4 separate regions of the Homo sapiens genome follow, and all the other regions are linked to region 2. The links are contacts of gene promoters, found by promoter capture Hi-C in human tissues and cell types (Jung and others, 2019). All regions are on one chromosome and are shown on one strand. Each heading gives the region's core, a stretch centred on a gene start or on the middle of the fragment in contact. The rest is flanking DNA. Distances are from core to core; before and after follow the strand shown.

What was found. Contacts are between HindIII fragments. The study calls those that stand out against the background at their distance.
Region 1: the fragment with the promoter of TERF2IP here is called in contact with a fragment that was not itself captured in region 2 in 1 of the 25 tissues and cell types used here (dorsolateral prefrontal cortex).
Region 3: a contact is called between the fragment with the promoter of ADAT1 here and a fragment that was not itself captured in region 2, in 1 of the 25 tissues and cell types used here (heart right ventricle).
Region 4: a contact is called between the fragment with the promoter of CHST5 here and a fragment that was not itself captured in region 2, in 1 of the 25 tissues and cell types used here (lymphoblastoid cells).

The regions. Positions count from the first base shown.
Region 1 is chr16:75,646,445-75,649,212 of GRCh38, reverse strand. It overlaps TERF2IP (TERF2 interacting protein), which reads right to left and starts at 1,440. Exons shown (of 3, transcript NM_018975.4): 1 at 661-1,440. The coding sequence starts at 1,330. It overlaps KARS1 (lysyl-tRNA synthetase 1), which reads left to right and starts at 1,548. Exons shown (of 14, transcript NM_005548.3): 1 at 1,548-1,635. The coding sequence starts at 1,574. RefSeq lists enhancers at 1-518, 316-585, 519-1,476, 1,516-1,695 and a silencer at 896-1,015. The HindIII fragment of the contact is 7,104 bases long and covers 1-2,768 here.
Region 2 is chr16:77,171,947-77,174,764 of GRCh38, reverse strand. No RefSeq gene overlaps it. Among named protein-coding and RNA genes, the nearest start is that of MON1B, 18 kb to the left of the region's middle. The HindIII fragment of the contact is 5,474 bases long and covers 1-2,818 here.
Region 3 is chr16:75,621,496-75,624,607 of GRCh38, reverse strand. It overlaps ADAT1 (adenosine deaminase tRNA specific 1), which reads left to right and starts at 1,327. Exons shown (of 10, transcript NM_001324445.2): 1 at 1,327-2,205. RefSeq lists enhancers at 1,014-1,533, 1,413-1,652, 1,534-2,053, 2,054-2,573, 2,574-3,094. The HindIII fragment of the contact is 9,595 bases long and covers 1-3,112 here.
Region 4 is chr16:75,534,308-75,537,449 of GRCh38, reverse strand. CHST5 (carbohydrate sulfotransferase 5) reads left to right here and starts at 1,342. Exons shown (of 4, transcript NM_024533.5): 1 at 1,342-1,406; 2 at 2,041-2,323. TMEM231 (transmembrane protein 231) reads left to right here. Exons shown (of 7, transcript NM_001077418.3): 7 at 1-709. The HindIII fragment of the contact is 10,484 bases long and covers 1-3,142 here.

The DNA.
Region 1 (2,768 bases), core at 191-2,690, 1.5 Mb after region 2:
GTCAATATTCTAGTCAATGGTAAAGTAAATTAAAACTAGACCAAGAAGCTGGGTGTGATGGCTCACGCCTGTAATCCCAACACTTTGGGACACCGAGACGGGAGGATCGCTTGAGCCCAAGAGTTCGAGACCTGTCAGGGCAACACAACGAGACCCCCATCTCTACAACAATTTTTTTTTTAATTTAGCGGGACGTGGTGGCGCGGGAGTGTAGTTCCAGCTACTTGGGAGGCTGAAGCCGGAGATTCGCTTGAGCCCAGGAGGTCCAGGATGCAGTAGGTCGTGATCGCGCGGCTGCATCACAGCCTGGGCGACGGAGCGAGCCCCCACTCAAAAATTAAAAAATAAAAACGACGAGAGGCCAGACGTGGTGGCTCACTCCTGTAATCCCAACACTTTGGGTGGCCGAGGCAGGAGGATCGCTTGAGCTCAGGAGTTCAGACCAGCTTAGGTAACAGAGACCCATCGCAAAAAAAGAACAATAATAAACAACAAGGGAGCGAGAAGGCAAGAAAATGGTGCAAATTTACCCGGATGTCAACAGGGGGCGGGGCCAAGCGCTGCTACCGAAGATGCCAAGATGGACGCCAGGCAGCCAGGAGAAAGATCCCAACCCCACCCGCGCAGATATCCGCGAGGCCCCGCGCTCAGCCTCCTCACCCCCGCTATCCGCGGCCTCCGGGTCCTCCTCCGCCTTCCGCTTGAGCTTCTGGGAGGAGGGGCTCACCGGCGCGTCCCCCAGCAGGTACTTATGCTCCTGGCCCCGCAGGTGCTTGAGGTAGCGGTCCTTCAGGGACTGCCACGAGTGCTGCGTGAGCGAGCTCTTCTCCATCGCTTTCCACAAGGCGTTACCGGTGACGGAGCTGGGCGAGCGGGCATTTTCCTTCACGTAGGTAAGGATGGCTACGTCGTCCGCATCCGTGAAGGCGATCCGCCCGGCGTGCCGCTGCGGCTCCGGCTCCGCGGCGCCCTCGGCCAGGGCCCCGGGCTTTGCTTCCGAGCCGGTGTCCGCCGCCGAGGCGGGGCCCAGCCGATAGGCCTCCAGCTCCAGCCTCTCGTTGCGCTCCACGCAGTCCAGGATGTACTGCGTGGAGATGAAATCACCCGAGGCCTCGGCCAGCGCCTCCCCGGGCTGGGCCAGCAGCACGGCCCCGGGCTCCTGCACTCGGCACACGGTGCCGCCGCCGTGCAGGATGAGCGTCGACAGCCGACGCTTGGCCGGGCTGGGCCGCACGTAGAAGGACATGGAGCTGCCGTCGTCCCTCACGAACAGAGTCGAGGAATGGGTGGGCCCGTTGGGGTCTTTGCCCAAATCCATCGCCTCCGCCATGTCTGACGCCGAGCACTACTAGAAGAGCTACCCCCTCGCGAGCGCCTGGCACACAGAGCTCAACTGACTGAGCTGTCACCGCAGACGCCTCTGCCGCGAAGCGCAGCACTGGGCCTGCGCAGCAGCAGCCGCGGCGCATCGAGAGTGCCCGCCCCCTCTCCCCCGGAAGAGGTGGGGCTTCGCACCTTGACCTGGAAATTAACGTACTATCCTCCTTACTTTTGGGTCGGGCCCTCCGGGAAGATGGCGGCCGTGCAGGCGGCCGAGGTGAAAGTGGATGGCAGCGAGCCGAAACTGAGCAAGAAGTGAGTGTCGCTGCGAGTCTTTAAAGCCTTTGCGGTAGGAGAGTCTGGGCTGGGAAGCGCCGCGAGGTTCCCACCAAGGCTGCTGTGCCGGGGCCTTCTTGCCGGCTCTCGTGGGTACGCACATGCTGAGACGTGGTGGCTGCGCCCTGCAGACCACGTACCCCGGGATACCCCGGGCACGCCGGCTCCCCGTTCCCAGCTGGCACCGGCGGGATGCTCCCTATCATACTCCTAGAGTTAAGAGACTGTGGAGGAGGAACTAGGACGAGAACTAAGAGTTATCAGAAAAGAAAAGCGAAACTTCCTGCTTAGCTTCATCCTCCTTTCTGAGAAATGCATTCTTTTGTTGAGCCACTCAGTAAACGTGGAAGTTGGAGAAATGTTAAATACCCTAGCTTTTCAGAAAGACCTTCAAAATTTTCTGGGCCTCACTAAGGTCATTCTGAACGTTATGTATTAAAAGGGATCAGTTCTAAAACTGTCATGCATCTACCCGTATGGGTTATTCAGTAGATACCTGTGAGTATTAAGTGATCAACGTCTAACAGTAGAGACCATCTTAATTCAGCCTGATATCTTTGTTAACCACTCCCAAATCCCTGGAGTATGTAGGTTAACATAGATAAGTCAGGATTAGCCACCCTTTAACTGGCTGTCTTATATTCTCATTAGCGTTCCCCATTTGAACCACAGAACACAGGTAATTGAGTGTTTTATCATTGCTAGGAAGATGGTACATAGTACCATTCCAGAGGCATACGAGAGGGCTTAATCCCCGTGGCGCGCACTTGTTATCCCAGCTACTCGGGAGACTGAGGCAGGAGAATCGCTTTAACCCAGGAGGCGGAGGTTGCAGTGTGCTGAAGTCGTGCCACTGCACTCCAGCCTGGGAGACTTGAGGTAGTGGTCCTTCAGGGACTGCCAGAAGTGCTGCGTGAGCGAGCCCTTCTCCATCGCTTTCCCCAAGGAGTTACTGAGACGGAGCCAGACCCTGAATGAAAAAGAAAAGAGAAATGATGTTTCTTTTTTTTTTTTTTTAAGATGGAGTCTCGCTCTGTCGCCAGGCTGGAGTGCAGTGGCGCGATCTCAGCTCACTGCAACCTTCGCTGCCAGGGTTCAAGCGATTCTCCTGC
Region 2 (2,818 bases), core at 257-2,756:
ACATGGTGAAACCCCGTCTCTACTAAAAATATGAAAATTACCTGGGCGTGGTGGTGGACTCCTGTAATCGCAGCTACTCGGGAGGCTGAGGAAGGAGAATTGCTTGAAACCAGCAGGCAGAGTTTGCAGTGAGCTGAGATCGCTGGCCACTGCACTCCAGCCTGGGCGTAAGAGCAAAACTCCGTCTCAAAGACAAACAAACAAAAATTCTTCTTTTGTTTAATTATCTGTGACCTATTTCTCCAAGCACAGTCCCTTCTGTGTAGCCTCTGATTCTCTGACCACTCTGATGGGTCATTGTCAGGTGAAGTGGGATCTCTTACTGGTAGTATTACTCCAGCTCTCTCCTCAGTTTTCTGAAATAATGGTATGATTCTGTACCCTACAAGTGGTATTCCCCAGTCAGATAGGGAGCAGGAGTGCCTTTGCTCAAGCCCTTCCTCCGGGATGGGGTACTCCTCTCCTTCCAAATAAATATTACAAGTACAGCTTCAATGCTGCCTCCTCTACTGACAGAACTCGTTCTCTCCAGCAGGCATCTCAGAATTTTTCTGAACATTTGACAGACGTAATCATCAGGCCCAAAGAGGAGACTGGGACTTCACTGTTCTCTAATTATTTTTGGGTAACTTATATTTCATTGATTTTATTTTCTTATTATTAGAATACATATTTATTGGGGTCCTGTGGGAGATGATTGAAGATTTAGAGCCCACAGTCCCTGCCCTTAACAAACTTCCAGTTTTCTGGAGGATGCAGACAGGTCAACGTTTGCAGCTCAAAAGGATAAGTCTACTTAAATTCAAGTTGTTCCAAATGGAAACTCATCTCCTTTTCCCAAACTTGTTTCTTCTCTTAATGTTACCAGAAGTTAGTCCCACAGTGACTTATGTCCCTCACCTTGGGGTCACCCTTGTCTCTGCCTTCTCCCACATACCTAGGTCCAATTATTAATGATCAACTCAGTACTCTCAGAACTTGGATGAGTTCTTAGAGTAAACCACACTGTCTCTTCTGCCTGAGTATTCTCCATTAGTTTGGCAAAACTGGAAGAAAAGCATCTATGAAAACTAAGGTGAAACACATGGAAAGGTTGCTTGGAACCCACATGAGCTATAGATTTTATTAGTATTATTATTATTTTAAATTGCAGAAAACCCAACTTGAACTGCCTTAAACAATGAAAACACTTCATTGGTGAGTTGAAAAGAAGGTGAGGGCAATCTTCAGGTGAGGGTTGATCCAGGGCTCCAATGATGTGGCCAAGATTCAGTTTCTTTCTTCATTCCTTCCTCTTCTTCCTTGATGTATACTCCATTTTCTAGCAGTTTCTCCCTCCAGGTCTCAAGAGGGCTCTAGCTGCTTCTGTGGCTACATATGTCTTGCTTTAAGTCCAGAAGGGATGGGAGAGAATCTATTTCTCAGAAGTCTCAGTGGAAATCTCATTGACTCTGGTTAGATATGTGTCCATGCCAGAACCAATCACTATGGCCAGGAAATGATTCATTTAGAATGGGCCAAGGCAATGAAGGTTCACCCTGGGCTTGAAAGTGAGGCCAAGATCACTCAAGTCATCATAAGGAGTAATTGTCCAAAGGAAGTTCAGGTTGTTGCAGCTGCTGGGAATCTGAATGCCCAGGAAGCAGGAAATAAATTTCTCTCATAGGCCCTGATCAAAGAATGCCAGGAACAGCATGATACAGTTTTAGACTGAAGGATGGTGGCAGGAAGCCAGTGGAATCTTTGGGTAGAAGTATGGCAAACTTGAAAATTGCTAAGAGAGTAGATTTTAAGTGTTTGTATTGCAAAAAAAAAAAAAAAAAGAAATGTTAAGTATGTGAAGGTAATGCATATTTAATTAGCTTGATTTAGCCATTTCACAATATCTATACATATATCAAAACAGCATGTTGGACACCATCAATATATATAATTTTTATTTGTCAATTAAAAAGAAGAATGAAAAAGATTATTCTCTCCTGATTTTTGGATGGAATAACGATGAAAGGAAAGAGATTTTAGAAGCAGGTGGGATGCTAATGAGAATATGTCAGTCCTTCGAATAAAAGCTTGGGAGGACTTAAGCCATTTCTGTGGCACGGAGAATAGAAAATTGCGATTTAAATAAACCCCATCAAATAGATTACTGTCCATTATCAGTGCGATAAAACCTTTTGAGAATTTGTCAAGGAGTATCTACATATTTGAAATAAACAACTTGCTCATTGATAATCTGCATTTTACTTATGGACTTTAGGATAAATGAAGCCATGATTCATACAGTCTCTACAAGGAAATTGAAAAGGAAAACCTTCCCCAAGAGGAAGATGATGTCAGAAACATGATACTCAACTACCTTATCGCTGAGTTGTCCTAGGGAATAGCAACTTCGTTGTCTAGATGTTATAATTTCTCCTCGATTTACTTTAATTAATGAGGCAAGTATAGACATGCTTGTCCAAATAAAGATTTAAAATTGGAGGGACTCAGAACACCAGAGTATTAGAGCTAACAGGGACCCGCCAGTGTGATTTATCTTATAGATGAGAAAACAGGTTGGGGAAGGAAAAGAGACTTAGCTGGCAGCCACCCAGAGAATCAGTGGCTCAGCTAGTGCTATTCTAACAACTTATCCTAGCTTTGTGCCTCCCTGAGGACTAGGACCTTTGCTTTTATTCCAATTTCAGAGGCAATTTTAGGGGAACTCCCTGAAAAGTGTAAACTGAAAAAGATGCCTGGGAGCCTGGGAGTTTCCTATGTAGTGCTCTAGGTGGGAAACCTTTGCTCACATAAAGATGACTGTCTTTATCAAAGGTGG
Region 3 (3,112 bases), core at 78-2,577, 1.5 Mb after region 2:
TAGTAGTACTGTACTACAGTAGCCAGTAGCCACATGTGACTATCCAGCATCTGAAATGTGGCTGATCCAAATTGGGATGTATTCTAAGTGTAACACACACCAGATTTCTTAAACTTCGCATTAAAAACAGAACAGAACATAAGTATTTTTTAAAATATTGAGACTCGGCAGCCAGGTGCGGTGGCTCACGCCTGTAATCCAGCACTTTGGGAGGCCGAGGCGGGCAGATCACGAGGTCAGGAGATCGAGACCATCCTGGCTAACATGGTGAAACCCCGTATCTACTAAAAATACAAAAATTAGCCTGACGTGGTGGCAGGCACCTGTAGTCCCAGCTACTCGCGAGGCTGAGGCAGGAGAATGGCGTGAACCTGGGAGGCGGAGCTTGCAGTGAGCAGAGATTGCGCCACTGCACTCCAGCCTGGGTGACAGAGCGAGACTCCGTCTCAAAAAAAAAAAAAAAAAAAAAAAAAATATATATATATATATATATGAGACAGACAGACCGACCCCGGGCATCGTGACTCACGCCTGTAATCCCAGCACTCTGGGAGGTTGAGGCGGGCGGATCACTTGAGGTCAGGAGTTCGAGACCAGCCTGGTAACATGGCGAAACCCCGTCTCTACTAAAAATAACAAAAATGAGCCGGGTGTGATGGCGGGCGCCTGTAATCCCAGCTACTTGGGAGGCTGAGGCAGGAGAATCGCTTGAAGCCAGGAGACGGAGGTTGCAGTGCGCCGAAATTGCGCCGCTTCCAGCCTGGGCGACAAAGCGAGACTCCATCTCAAAAAATTTTTTGATTATATGTTGAAATAATACTATTTGGGATGTATGGGTTAAATAAAATATATATGATTGTTTCTATTTTGACTTTTAATGAGGCTACTGGAAATTTTTAAATTACGTATATGGTTCGAATTATATATCTATTGGACAGTGATGTTACAGATAGAAATACAGCATAGTCAGGAGAATCGCTTGAACCGGGAGGCGAAGGTTGCAGTGAGCCGAGATCGCGCCTCTACACTCCAGCCTGAGCAACAGAGCAAGACTCCGTCTCAAAAAAAAAAAAGAAAAAGAAAAAAATTCAGCCGAGTGCTGCAAGATACGTCATTCTAGTTGAAGGAATATCTAAGCCAACAAGCGGCTCCCATCATCCGGTTTCACGCCTCTCTAAGACGCAGCCAGGGCTGCGGGACTTGAAGCGCGGGAATCTCGGCCCTGGCACCGACTCCCCGGAAAAACTACAGGGCCCGGCATGCACTGCGCGCCTCTGGGAGCGGGAGCCGAAAGGAACCGGCGCTTTGTGACGTCACGTCCGCCTTACCGGCGGATTAAGCTCGCTTTCTTCTAGGCGCGTTTCCTGAAGGTGGGAGGGGAGCGTCCGCGAGGCGCTGGGGCGACGGGGCAGGTTTATCCGGGCTAACTTTGCCGAGTCTGTTTTTGAGGGAAGAGGTTGTGAGGATCGTATCTTCCGGGACGCGTTTCACGTGGGAAGGCGCTCCACGCCTGGAACTGTCAGCAGCCGGCGCCTGAAGAGCTCCTGGCGCGGGGCCTCTGGCCTGGCAGCCGCAGGACCCAATGGATCAGGCGCTCACGCTGTTCTCACTGCATGGCTTCAGTGCCTTGCCTGGCACCTCCTATCCTGTAACTGGCCGACTCGGGGTCCCACCCAGGCTTCTCCAGCGGCCGGGAAGGGGCTCTGCTTCCGGAAGTGTTTAGGAAGGGAGCCAGCGTAAACCAGAGTCCCTTCCTCCAAGCATCGCTGAAGCCTTTTCTCCCCTGGCAGCCGACTTCCTTTTCTTTGGAAAGGACGTCAGTTTTTTTAGCTTGTTGAAACTGTTCAGAGATGCGGTCTTGTGGGCAAATAAATGCCTGTTTAGCTGAGCTGTTATTTTCAGCTAAGAAGTTCTTCAAGTTTTCAAGATCTAGGAGGGGGTGTAGGCTCGAATTATAATGGACCCAGTGTAGCAAAACATTTATTCATTTAAACAATTGTGCATGCTCATTCAGACGCACTACCTGAGTGAGATGATGCCGTTCTGGGCTGCTTCATCTTAAAGAGAGTCACTGTTTCTTCTGGCAACTTCTACCTGCCTTGCCTATCGAGGTTTGTGAATTGCACCTCTGGTTTAATTTCAGGTCGATGGCCAGGTGGTCTTCATAAACTATACTGCCTTGTGATGCCTCCCTAGAAATGAGAGGTGAGTCCCTTCCAAACGAGGATTCTAGGATCTCATGCTTTCTTTTCTTGACAAGGCTTGCCCTGGCCCTCTGACTTTCAAGTCACAGGGTCTCACTTCCTGCAGATTTTTGTTTTAAATCACTGTGGTCTGATTTACCAGTAGCATTCACTACAGTAGCGAGCCTGCACGTTGCGCTGCAGGGGATTCATAACAATACCATCTTTCAAAAGCTGCATGCACTGGAGCTCAGGAAAGCCTTTTTTGTTTTTTTGAGAGGGAGTCTCGCTCTGTCACCCAGCCTGGAGTGCAGTGGCACAATCTCGGCTCATTGCGACCTCCGCCTCCCGGGTTCAAGCGATTCTCCTGCCTCAGCCTCCCGAGTAGCTGGGACTACAGGCACGCGCCATCACGCCCGGCTAATTTTTTTGTATTTTCAGTAGAGACAGGGTTTCACCACGTTGGCCAGGCTGGCCTCGAACTCCTGACCTCAGGTGAGCCACCGCGCCCGGCCTTCAGTTTGGTTTTACAGTGCTTAGCTATGTCTATCACAAGCTCATCTTCTACTGGGAAGCTTTTTGTATAATTGAGTCCAAATGAGATCAGGATGTGCCTAGTGAGCATTGATAGGGCCAAGAGTGAGAGATTTCCCTGCAAAGTATCCTAGGGATCTGCTTGATGGTTTTTTAATTCATGGCTTTCTATGCCCATTACAGCCCTCCCCCTTTCACCCCCACCACCAGGTAGCTCAAGGCAAATTAACCAGGAAAATCATCAAATGTTATTTTTTGTAATAGTAATCACAGTTGACCTTAATTATGCTCAACATAGTAGCAATTGCTTTTTATAAGTATTACTTATTTAACCCTCACAGTAACCCTAAGTATTATTTAATCTTCACAATAATCTAAATAGGTTAGATACTATT
Region 4 (3,142 bases), core at 93-2,592, 1.6 Mb after region 2:
GCTAAGTTAAGGTTTGATGTTATTACTGAATATTTGGAGGCAGAAAGACTCCTGATTTTGCCAAATGATTAGTACAGTTTCGGCTTAAGTCAGATGAGGCCCCCCTAATATTCCATCATGTAAGGCTAATAAAGCAATTATTTCTTTTTTTTTTTTCCTTCCAACTTTTATTGTAGACTCATGGGGTATATGTATGGGTTTCGTATATAGCTAAATTGTACAACCTGGGGGTTTGGTGTACAGATTATTTCATCACCCACGTAATAAGCATAGTACCCAGTAGGTGGTTTTTCTTTTCTTTTTCTTTTTCTTTTTTTTTTTTTTTTTTGAGACAGAGTCTCACTCTGTTACCCAGGCTGGAGTGCAGCAGCATGATCTCAGCTCATTGCAGCCTCTACCTCCCAGGTTCAAGTGATTCTCCTGCCTTACCCTCCCGAGTAGCTGGGATTACGGGTGCCCACCACCATGCCCGGCTAATTTTTGTGTTTTTAGTAGAGACAGGGCTTCACCCTGGTGGTCAGGCTGGTCTCGAACTCCTGACCTCAAGTGATCCATCCGCTTTGGCCACCCAAAGTGCTGGGATCACAGCAGTTTGATCACAGAAGTTATTATGGTTGGCATTCTGGCACACATCTTTCTAATCTTTTTTGTTGTATGTAACCTTTTTAGTATCACAAACAACACTTTTATAAACCTTGTGTAGAAATCATTGTTGCTGGTTTATTTCCTTAAGATACATTCAGAAAACTTATGACCATTGTTAAGGATCTTAATTCATTGCCAAACCACAGCCAGGAAAGACTGCTAATTTCTACTCCCAGCAGCAGGGACTCCTCGTTTCAGATACCACCATGGATTAAAGGACCTCCCAATGCTCTATCCTTTTCAGATTACTGGACTCTGCCCGTTTGTTTCTTTGTTTTTGAGATGGAGTCTCGCTTTGTCACCCAGTCTGGAGTGCAATGGCCCCATCTCCGCTCACTGCAGCCTCCACCTCCGGGGTTCAAGCTATTCTCCTGTCTCAGCCTACCTAGTAGCTGGGATTACAGGCATGTGCTACCATGCGCGGCTAAATTTTGTATTTTCAGTAGAGATGGGGTTTTGCCACGTTGACCAGGCTGGTCTTGAACTCCTGACCTCAAGTGATCTGCCTGCCTTGCCTCCCAAAGTGCCGGGATTACAGTCATATGCCACCAGGCCAGGCTGAGCTGTTATTTGTAAGGGGTGGGTGGGGAGCTTTTATTTACTGAAACATATCCTGTATTCATTGGAACATGTTATCAAGCCTGCGCCTCTGGGCGGAGGCTAGGGCAGGGAGGGCACAGCTCCTAAGGCCACCTGGTCTTTCAACTCCTCCCAGCTGGGACACTGCACCGGGAGGCAGCACGGATTCCTGTGTCATCAAGGTGCCTGGGTCTTGGCTTAGGGCTGAGGTTGGGGCCTTGGGAAGGGTTTGGATTCCAAGTCCCTTGGCTGCAAGGATGCCCCCAAGAGCGAGGAGGGCCAAGATTAAGATTCGACTTCCTTCACTAGGGCCTTTGTCCTCCCAGGAGCTCCCAGGTTCTCTGGCGATTGGGGGGGTGAGGAAGGGTTACAACGTTCATTTGTGGTCAGTTAGATGAGAAGTGACTCTGCCAGCGTCCTTTGACATCCCCGGCTAAAAGGTGCGCCTCTTAGAGCCCCAGCCCACCTGGGCCCTCCTGCTCTGCCCTCGGCCAGCGCCCCTCCCCGAGACATGGCCCCTCGGTCGGGGGTGGGGAGAGGGAGCTGGGGGCAAAACCTGCTCCTTCCTTCCTTCTCCCATTTCCCTGGCTCCCGCCGGCCACCCTGGGACCGCAGCCACGTCTGAAAGCTCCTCACCAGGCAGCGCTGAAGATTGCGGGGCAGCGCCGAGGGTTGTTGGCCGGCGCGCGGGGAGTAGAGGGCGCGGGCCGCAGTGCCGGGCTCCGGAGGGAGCTCTGCGCCGGGTCCTTCCCTGTGGTAGCCCCAGGACACCCCCATCCTCAACATCCCATTCTGGGACTCCTGCCCTGTTCCCAGATTCGCTCTGCCTCGAGTCTCCAGGAGCTTCCAGTGGCTTGGTTACCCCCGACTCTTCGTCCATGCCTCTTAGAGCCCCTTTCCCAGCCTCACTGGGTGTCCCTTAATAGTCTTGGGACCTTAAGGAGCAAGTCAGCCCCTGCGGAACCTCCCAGTGAAGAGAAAGAGCTGGCTGTGCGGTGGAACTTGGAAGAGACGACGTCTGGGAGCTTTTGCTGAGCCCAGGGGGAGAGGCGTCCCTCTGGCTGCTGCTCCAGCTCTGGCAGACACGCCAAGCTTTGAGGTACTTTGGTTCTTCATTCTCCACCGGAGGTGTCCCCACACTCGGTTGGGCTGGGGGCCGGGCCAGTGGCCCAGCTGTGACGCTCCTCTGTCCTGCACCAGAGACCTGGGTTGGCGGGAAGAGCTGGGGGTGGCTTTTCCATCAGCAACGTGGAAAGTTCATCTCCCCTGCTAGCGCTGGTTTGGAAGTGTCTTGCTGGGGCTTCGGCTGCACGCGGGAATCCTCACTGCGCAGGGCAGGGGTCGGGGTGCGGGTTCTTATTCCATACTTGGGTCTCAAAGGGTGTGGCTTTCAAAAGCTCTCCATGAAATTCTTGAGAAAAAATAGCTTGGTGAGTTAATTTGCAACCAGACTCAGGGGAAGTGGAGTCGTGCCTCACTGCCTCTAGGGCCTTGATGTTAGGCTTTAGGAAAGGCCCTCTGGGCCCCAGGACAGTACAGGTGCCTAGGAAATGTTTTTTTGTTTGTTTGTTTGTTTGTTTGTTTCGAGACGGAGTCTCGCTCTGTCACCCAGGCTGAAGTGCAGTGGCCTGATCTTGGCTCACTGCAACCTGTCTCCTGGGCTCAGGTGATTTCCTGCCTCAGCCTCTGGAGTAGGTGGGATTACAGACGCCCGCCACCACACCCAGCTAATTTTTGTATTTTTACTAGAGACGGTGTTTCACCATGTTGGCCAGGCTGTCCAATTCCTGACCTCAGGTGATCCGCCCCGCTGAGGCTCCCAAAGTGCTGGGATCACAGGCGTGAGCCATGGCACTGGGCCCAAATTTTTGTTTTTGTTTTTGTTTTTTCAGATGGGGTCTCACTCTGTCACAGAGCC